3 separate regions of the Homo sapiens genome follow, and regions 1 and 2 are each linked to region 3. Evidence: promoter capture Hi-C in 16 types of primary human blood cells and fetal thymus (Javierre and others, 2016). All regions are on one chromosome and are shown on one strand. The core of a region is centred on a gene start or on the middle of the fragment in contact, and the rest is flanking DNA. Distances in the headings are between cores, read along the strand shown. Region 1 overlaps WHRN (whirlin). Region 2 overlaps WHRN (whirlin). Region 3 holds the start of TNFSF15 (TNF superfamily member 15).

Region 1 (2,902 bases), core at 251-2,750, 390 kb after region 3:
TGGGTTTCCCTTCCCCAATAAACAGCGAGAGCTGGTGCAAAATGGAGGCCCAGAAAGTGTGGAACAGAAACTGGAAGGAAAGCACACACTCCCCGGCCACTTGCAGGATTATCTTCTACTATGCGGCCTTCTAAACATTCGCCTCCCACATGGTAGGAAAATGTTCTTTGTTCTAGTGTTCAGTTGGGCAAGATGACATCAGGTGGCTGGCTATCGATGACCGAGATGCCCCAGACACTGGCCCCAAATGGAGCCAGTTTCCATTTAGCCTGAATTCCTCGGATCATGCTGTGTGGTTATTGATCCCAGGTTAAATGTGGCTCATTCTGCAGCCATTTCCCCTCAAAGCAGACACAGTCAATCAAAGGAAATCAGATCCAGCTTTCCCCCATTCACAAACTGTGTTGATTTTCCATTTGTCTAACAGAGAGCCAGCCCTGAGCATTTTATGCTGCCTTCACACAATATCATTTCCCCCATAAAGATGTTGGCCGAGAGAGCAGAGTGAAAGAAGAAAGGCCTGCCTGTTATTTCTTGAATTCTTCATCTAGTGCCAGCATGCCTGTGGCAGAGGGGCTTAATTGCACAGATTCTGGGATCCTACCAGCTGGGTTCTGCTTTCCAGAGTAGTAGCTTTGTCACCTTGGGCAGATGACTTGTGTCTTCTGGGCCTCCATTTCTGCATCTGTACGGTGGGCTGATAAGACCAGCTGTCTGGGTTGTTCTGAAGATTCAGTGAGATCAGGAGTGGATATGCAGGTGTGGAGTGTGGAGGAGCCCATTCTGTTTCTACTCCAAAGGTTGGAAAAGGGCCCTGTATTAATCCGTTCTCACACTACTGTAAGAAACTGCCTGAGACTGGGAAATTTATGAAGAAAAGAGGTTTAATTGACCCACAGTTCTGTAGGCCGTACAGGAAGCATGGCTGGGGAGGCCTCGGGAAACTTAAAATTATGGTGGAAGTTTGAAGGGGAAGCAGGCACATCTTACATGGCTGGAGGAGGAGGAAGAGAAGGGGGAAGTCCTGTACACTTTTAAGCAACCAGATCACATGAGAACTTACTCACTATCACGAGAACAGCAAAAGGGAAATCTGCTCGCATGATCCGATCACCTCCCACCAGATTCCTCCCCCAACACTGGGGATTACAATTCAACATGAGATTTGGGTGAGGATACATAGCCAAAGCATTTCAGGCACTGCAGAGCATTGTAGAGAAAAGGGGATTGGAGAGGTCAAGGCCAGCCTTGTACTCAAGGAGCAAATGCCCTTGAGGTCAGGTGGCAGCAGCTGGGATTTGCCCTGGACTTGACCTCAGGCTTTTTCCACCTGGATTTGAGAGAGTTTGTGCTCCAGCCCTGTCATATGCCTGGAAGGAGGCTCCCAGCCCCTGCCCAAGGATGCTGGGGACAGGATCCCTGCCCCTGAAGGCCTTACTGTCCTTCTTCCCTCCTCTTGTCCCCCAAAAAGAAGGTGAATAGGGGGCAGTAGATGTGGCTGTCAGTGCTTCTCTGCATTGGCCTCCTTCTGTGGCCTCTGTGCCTCCCTCCTTGTCTGCAGCACAGTGAACTGGGAGAAGCTCAGGCTTGTCTCAGGCCCCTCCAGCTGCAGGGACCCCTCACTGTCAAACCAGCTTTTTTTTTTCAGAAACAAGTAGAAAACTGTCAAAGGGCCTTATTTTTCCTCCTGCATCCTGACTTTGGTCCAACCTGGATGGTTTAGAGAATCGTTCTCCATCCATGAGCGGGGTAAGAGAGGAACTCCATGTATTCCTTCAGTCATGCGTTCAGCCACTCCTTCTTCTATGCAGCAGCCTTTGTGGAGCATCTCCTGCCTGCCAGGGGCTGAGCCTGTGCTCTTGAAGCTGATCAAGTCCAGTGGAGGAGGCTACCTCAACTCAAATCATCTCCATAACTCACACTCTGATAAAGCGGGCTGAAGGGTGGTGTGAGAACATACATGGGCCCCGACCAGTCTGGGGTACTTGGGGAGAGAGGTTGAAGCTAAGATCTGAAGTTGTTGGCTACAGCCAGGCAATAGATGAGGTGAGACAGCTGAGGAGCTGGTGGGGCATGTCTGAGGGCCCTGAGCAGGTTGGCACATGGCCACTCAGAAGAATGGAAGGAGACCAGTAGGGCTGGAGTGTCAGGAGTGAGGGGTAGAGGGGCGAGGGTCAGGAGCGGGAGGCGTTTGTGTTTAACCCTAAAACCATGGGATACTCTGGAGAATCTTGAGTAAGGATGTGATGTGATCCTGTTTGTGTTTTTTTTTTTTTTAAGAGATAGGGTCTCTGTTGGGGTAGCTCACTACAGCCTTGAACTCCTGGGCTTAAGTGGTCCTCCCACCTCAGCCTCCTGAGTAACTGGGGCCACAGGCGCACATGCTCCCATGCACAGCTAATTTTTACATTTTTTTGTAGTGATGGGGGTCTCACTATGTTGCCCAAGCTGGTCTCAAACTTCTGGCCTCAAGGGATCCTCCCGCCTTGGCCTCTCAAAGTGCTAGGATTACAGGTGTGAGCCACAGCACCCAGCCCTCTGTTTACATTTTTTAAGCTGCCTCTTCTGTGTGGAGAGAGCCCAGAGGTGCAAGGTGGATGCGGGTGACCAGGAGAGGCTGTTGTTCCTGTCCAGATGACCTCCTGTCCCCCACCCCAGGAAGCTGCTGAGTGCCCAGAGAGGGCATATCGAGGATGATAGGTGTCTTCTCCTTGAGTAGAAGAGCCCACTCCATCCCAGGGAGGCCTCAGCATGTGCCCCCTGCACCTTCCAGAATCATCAGTTTGCCCAGAGGCATTAAAGCCTCTCAGGCCGGCCACAGCTTTACCTGGAGCCTGAATAGGACCATTCCTCTCAGCCAGTGCTTTGCTGTCTCTGTAGCGGTTTATGGAACACCTGCCTT
Region 2 (2,775 bases), core at 226-2,725, 370 kb after region 3:
TGAGAGCTCTAAACCAGAGAGGGTTGGGTGAAGAGCTCACCCAGACCCAGCCCATACCCTGAGCTTGCTCCAGGAACTGTCTTAGCAATTACCTGCATCTTTTTATTTTCTTTTTCAAAATATGGACAAGCTTTACTGACTTTTGAACTGTTGGGAAAAACTAATGTCTCATTAAAACTGTATTGCTTACTTGTAATGAAAGAAAAAAAAACAGCCCATTAAAGTTTTACACCTGACATGGAAAACTATTAAAGATTCATAATTGCAATAAAACTCTTTAATAGAATTTGAATTTTCCTTGTGATAATGCTGTAGCCAACAGGGACCTCCCTTGAAGCCGCAAGATCCATTTTAACACAGGCTTGGGAGGGTGCTGAAGGCAACTCTGAAATCGGCTTCTTTCGGGCCCTTCCCAGCGTGGCTGGTACAGGTGCACGCGCGGCCTGAGAGGATGGATTCCCGTCTCCCAGCTCAGCCTCGGGATCAGGTTGTTGGCAGCCTTCTCTCCTAACAACTTCTGGCGAGGGAGCTCGAAGCTACTGCCATTCCGCCACAGGTTCTTCCTGCCAGTTCCCTTCATCGGGCACGAATACAGCACCTACTGAGTGCATGGCCTAAAGCCCAGGGCTGGGAGGGGTAAGAAGTAGAGGAAGGGCAGGCTGGCTTTTCTTAAAGGAGAGTGTGGTATTGGTTCGTGCAGGGGCCTTGCTGGCTGGTAGAATGAAGGCCAGATCCCAGCTCTTAATGACTCTACTTCCCGTCCTCGGCTTCCTCATCTGTAAAATGGGATTAAAATATGAGTTTCATGGGTGTGGTCAATGTGTGTAGGTCAGTGGAAGCCAGAGGCAGGGCCCTGGGGAAGGTAGGTGGAAAGGTAGAGGGTGGCGCTGAGAGACACCCTGGAGGTAGAATTGCTAGATTTGGTTGGTGAGTGATCAACAGGTGAATTCAGGGATAAGCATGGCTTTCAAAAATGCATTTATTGCATTTATGGCCCCATGGAGACCCATGCAGTTACTGTATGTTAGCTACTTGTTTATGTGCTTTATACTTGTTCATTCAGTAAATATTTATTGAGCACCTACTATGTGCCAGACCCTGTTTTAAGTGTTGGTGATACACTGGGGAATGTATTAACTCATTTGTCAACCAGGTACTGATATGATCTCTATTTTCCAGAGGAGGTAACAGGCACAGAGAAGTGAAGTCAATTACCCAAGGTCATACAGCAAGTAAGTGACAGAGTGTAGAATTAGTCAGAGACTCCTGGGTCTGTGCTCAGAAACACACACCAGATGGCCACTGGTGTACTTTGCACAACACACTAGCTGTTAGTGGTCTTGTTCCCATTTTGGGAAGGAAGGCTTAGAACAATGAAATTATTTTCCTCAGGTCTCTTGGAGAGTAAGAGGGCTCCGTTAACCCAGCAAGGTCCACTGAGTGTTTCCGCTGTTACGAGGGTCCCCTCTCCTCCTGGGGCTCCTGCGCCTGCCCCAGACCTAAGGGAATTGAATTCTCTGCTTACTGGTGGTTGGCCAATTTCAGGGAAATCGGTATCCTGCCCTTATTGAAGCCCCGCCGTGCTCTTCTCAAAGTGTCTGAACATGAGCCAGTCACTCAGTGGGCTGTGGATGATGGAGGAGTCTTTCCTCTGCCTTAAAATGAAGGGCATTCCATGGTCCACCCTCCACTCCTCCATCAGTGGTGACAAATAGGATTCCCATGGTGACAAATAAAATAAAGCTGCCTTTATTCGTTTATCTTTCCTTGTCCTCCCCATCAGTGCCCTGCAAGCAAGCTGAGCAATATTAGACACTCGATCACACTTGGCACCTGTCTCTCCTATCTCCAGCACGTCCTGTCCCAGTGAGCTCTGGTGGAGGGATATGAGTGTTTCCACGGTTAGCTGTGGGTCTGGGCTTTGCTGTTGCCTTGCTCTGTGGCCCTAGACATGTTCCTGTCCTTTCTGAGCCTTGGATTCTGCATCTATAAGAGACGCCTTGGAAGGCCCCGATGGATACAGCATCTTTGCCTCTATTTTCTGCTTTATTTTCCTGTGCCGTCTAACTCTGAGTTGGTTTCAGTGGGTAGGAAAAAGCCACATTGCAATGAACAAACAAACAGAGCTCTTAGTTTTCTTTGGGAAAGAGTGAGAGTAAGATCTTTAAACATGCTGCCTCCAAATTCACTCACACCAACTGACGGGAAAGGGGAAACAAACAGAAGTGAGAACAAGAGAGGAGGAAGGCCGGGTCCCCCCATCCATTCACTATTTCCTAAGCATCTCCCGCATGCCAGTGCTGTGCTGGGGTGAAGGTGGCATAGGCTGGTAGGAAGAAGATGAGAAGATTAGGCTCAAAGGCTGGTTCATTTGTTTACTTCCAGTACGACCAGTGACCTTGAGCAAGTCCCTCAACATCTCTGAACCTGTCTCCTGTATCTGGAAGAGAAGCACATGAGAAGCCATGGAAAGCCTGATGTGTCTCAGGCTCTGTGCAGGGTGGTTCCATTTGATTCTCACAGCTACCTGGGAACTAGTGGTAGTATCATGCCCATCTTATAGATGACAAAACTGAGACTCAGGTTGTACTTGAGAGCTGTGCGGGGCCACTCAGCTACTATGTCACGGTTGCCTGGCTTTAAAACTAGAGGCTGCAATGTAGGGATGGGACTCCACACTCCACTGGCCACACGGGGTGACACTAGGACACTAGCAGCAGAGAAGACACCAGACTTGGTTGAAAGTGGTTTGTGGACTCTACATCACAGTGATCG
Region 3 (2,973 bases), core at 230-2,729:
GTGTATCCAGGGAACTGCAGCTTGGGAAAGTAGTAAAAGTTGAGGCTGGACACTGGGGACGGGTGACAGTGAGCAGGGACCAAGCCATGAAAGGCCTTTCCAAGTAGCCTGAAGAGTCCAGGCTGTGACATAACCAGAAGTAGCAACTGGATGGAGGCGCTAGTAAAACTGGTTTCTGCCGTACATCACAGGCCATTCCTTAAACTTTCCTATTATTTCTAGAACCCATCTTTTCCCAGGGTCCTTTACTTTCCTCTGAGATCAACCCTCCCTGAGCTCTAAGGCCGAGTTCCAACACCACCTCTTTCTCCAGGAAGCCCCCTCAACCCCCTCACTGCAGGGTCTTACCCACTCCTGGGTAAAGACAGTGCAGGTATTTATGAACATGCATGATCCAGCAGTACCTATGGTGAAGTGTGATGGTGAAGAAGCCAGCAGCCAGCCTGCCTGAGTCCCAATCCTGGCTCTACCACTTGCCGTCTGTGCTTTATTTTCTTATGTGTAAAATGAGAATGATAGCTTTATTGTCACAAAATTTATCTCAGGATTGAATAATTTTATTGATGTATTTAACTTAGAGCAGTGATTGGCACAAAGTAAGCACTTAATAAATATAATCTTTTATTACATGTTGTGGCCCCCACACCCAACTGCAGGCAAAGCACATCACATGATCAATTAACTTTAGACTAATCAGGGAGTAGTGGTTAATGTTCTACCCTCACAGACAGTCACCTCGATCTGTGGCCTCATACTCTGATTAAACAATGGTCAATGCAGACTGGAAATACTTTCCTTTCATGGGCAGTCATGTGCTAGAGGTTACAACTCCAAGCCGTGATTTAGAACTAGGTCATCTTCCTAGCTCCTCTGTCTTCATCCTTGGATGACCTAGGACAAGTGCCTTCACCTTTTAGAACTTTGCTATTCCCATCTGTACACTGAGAATGAATTTCTATGAGGTTCAAAATGACAGAGGGCTAGGCAGCACTTTGCAAAGAGCTGATGCAAATGTGATTTCCGTTTCCCAATCTGCAAACCACACACCTCTCATCCCTCACTTTCACTTCCAGAAGCACACTCCCCAGACTGGCACAGCTGGTAAGCCTCCAGTGCAGGGAACAGGTATATTTTAATTTGCCCCACCCACTGACTTGATGAATTCTTTCTCTCCTCCTTCAGGGACTTTCCTAACTTCCTTCTGTAAACGAAGGAAGGAGCACATGAGCATACTGTATATAAATATGCTTGGGAAAGCTTTCTTCTTCTCCTTCTTCTTCTTTTTTTTTTTTTTTTTTTTTTCCTCAAACCAAACTTGGTTTCTGTTGTAGGCGGTGCATTCTCTAGCAGGGTAGGGCCACAGTGTGCTCTTGAAGAGGGGAGGGGAGAGGAAAAGGGAAGGAGGAGACTGAGTGATTAAGTCACCCACTGTGAGAGCTGGTCTTCTATTTAATGGGGGCTCTCTCTGCCCAGGAGTCAGAGGTGCCTCCAGGAGCAGCAGGAGCATGGCCGAGGATCTGGGACTGAGCTTTGGGGAAACAGCCAGTGTGGAAATGCTGCCAGAGCACGGCAGCTGCAGGCCCAAGGCCAGGAGCAGCAGCGCACGCTGGGCTCTCACCTGCTGCCTGGTGTTGCTCCCCTTCCTTGCAGGACTCACCACATACCTGCTTGTCAGCCAGCTCCGGGCCCAGGGAGAGGCCTGTGTGCAGTTCCAGGTAAGCCACATGGCACTCTGACCTTGGGGAGGAGCAGTGGACTCTCTGCAGTGAGTGGCAACTATTTCAGCTCTGGACAGAGGATAGAGTTTCTTGATGTATCACATTTCTTGTTTCTACATGCAGAGGAAATGTAGAGTGGGAGGGGTGGAGAGGTTCAATTTGGTGTTTATTCTCAATATTTCTAGGGAATGAACAGTCCCTTCTTTTACTGTGGGGATAACCTTCAGCCTCATATTTTTTAGATAATTATAATCATAGTATACTGGTAATTTGGGAAGATTCTTTTTATTTAAGAAAAAAACTTAAAATTACATAACTAACACGGTCATTGAAAAAAGTTAGAAAATACAGATAAGGAGAGGAAGAAAGTCATCATTACCCATAACTCTTATAGCTGACCACTGTTAACAGTTTGGGATATATAATTCTGTACAGAATTATATGCCAGATATAAAACGGATTTTTTAATGAGACGAGATTATTCTGAGTCTGCTAATATATTATGATTTTATTTATATGCTAATGAATTCACAACAACATGATGCTATAGATACACATTCCTATATGTGGATGCTATAATTTCTTTACCCACTCTTTTTCTTGGGTTTAGAACTTTTTCTCTTTTTAGAGCTTAAGAAAGAACCTCCTGCCTGGTTGTCTATCTCTAAGGTCTTGCTGAGGCCTGGGAGAAGCCTAGTCAGAAAAAGAATATGAAGTCTAGGGAGAACAATGGTAGGGGCAGCGATAGGTGTCAAGAAGAAAACATAATTCTTGGCTGGGAACAACAAAGATGTACCTCAAAACCTAAGGAATGAGTCTTTCCAGTAATATCCTTTTTAAAAATGTCCCTTCATAATCTATGGTGGCTGATTTCATTTCAGTTCAAAGTATTAAATTGCAAAGGGAAAAAAATGGGTTTTCAATGGGTTTAACTGGAAACCTAGCCTCTAAGCAATCCTGGCCAGTTTCAAAGCATAGACACCACAAGTAAGCCATGGAAAATCTGTAATTCTCGCTGCCCCATCAGGGTCAACAAACAGACTGTGATTCAGGCAGCAGCGTTCATGGCCAGATGCCATTGCTCATAAAATGTAGAAATATGCAGACAAACCGGAAATGCTGTTTATGTTAAAGAAGAACCGCAGGTCATGGGAAGTCAGACTTTGACCCTTTGACCACCAAGGGGCCAGTTTCTGCTGGAAGTCAAACTGCAGCGCCCAGTTGGTGCTCTGGGACTCTGTCCCTCTTTAGCCAG

What was found. Contacts are between HindIII fragments. The CHiCAGO score rates a contact against its expected background, and 5 or more counts as called.
Region 1: a contact is called between a fragment that was not itself captured here and the fragment with the promoter of TNFSF15 in region 3, in 2 of 17 cell types (M0 macrophages and neutrophils). The highest score is 5.0, in M0 macrophages.
Region 2: a fragment that was not itself captured here is called in contact with the fragment with the promoter of TNFSF15 in region 3 in 1 of 17 cell types (total B cells); the score reaches 5.2 in total B cells.

Annotation. Positions count from the first base shown.
Region 1 is chr9:114,414,649-114,417,550 of GRCh38, reverse strand. All of the region lies in intron 7 of WHRN (whirlin), which reads left to right. Among named protein-coding and RNA genes, the nearest start is that of AKNA, 28 kb to the right of the region's middle. The HindIII fragment of the contact is 3,286 bases long and covers 1-2,902 here.
Region 2 is chr9:114,431,030-114,433,804 of GRCh38, reverse strand. The region is part of intron 3 of WHRN (whirlin); the gene reads left to right. Among named protein-coding and RNA genes, the nearest start is that of AKNA, 44 kb to the right of the region's middle. The HindIII fragment of the contact is 2,686 bases long and covers 133-2,775 here.
Region 3 is chr9:114,804,545-114,807,517 of GRCh38, reverse strand. TNFSF15 (TNF superfamily member 15) reads left to right here and starts at 1,479. Exons shown (of 4, transcript NM_005118.4): 1 at 1,479-1,715. The coding sequence starts at 1,506. The HindIII fragment of the contact is 3,139 bases long and covers 1,260-2,973 here.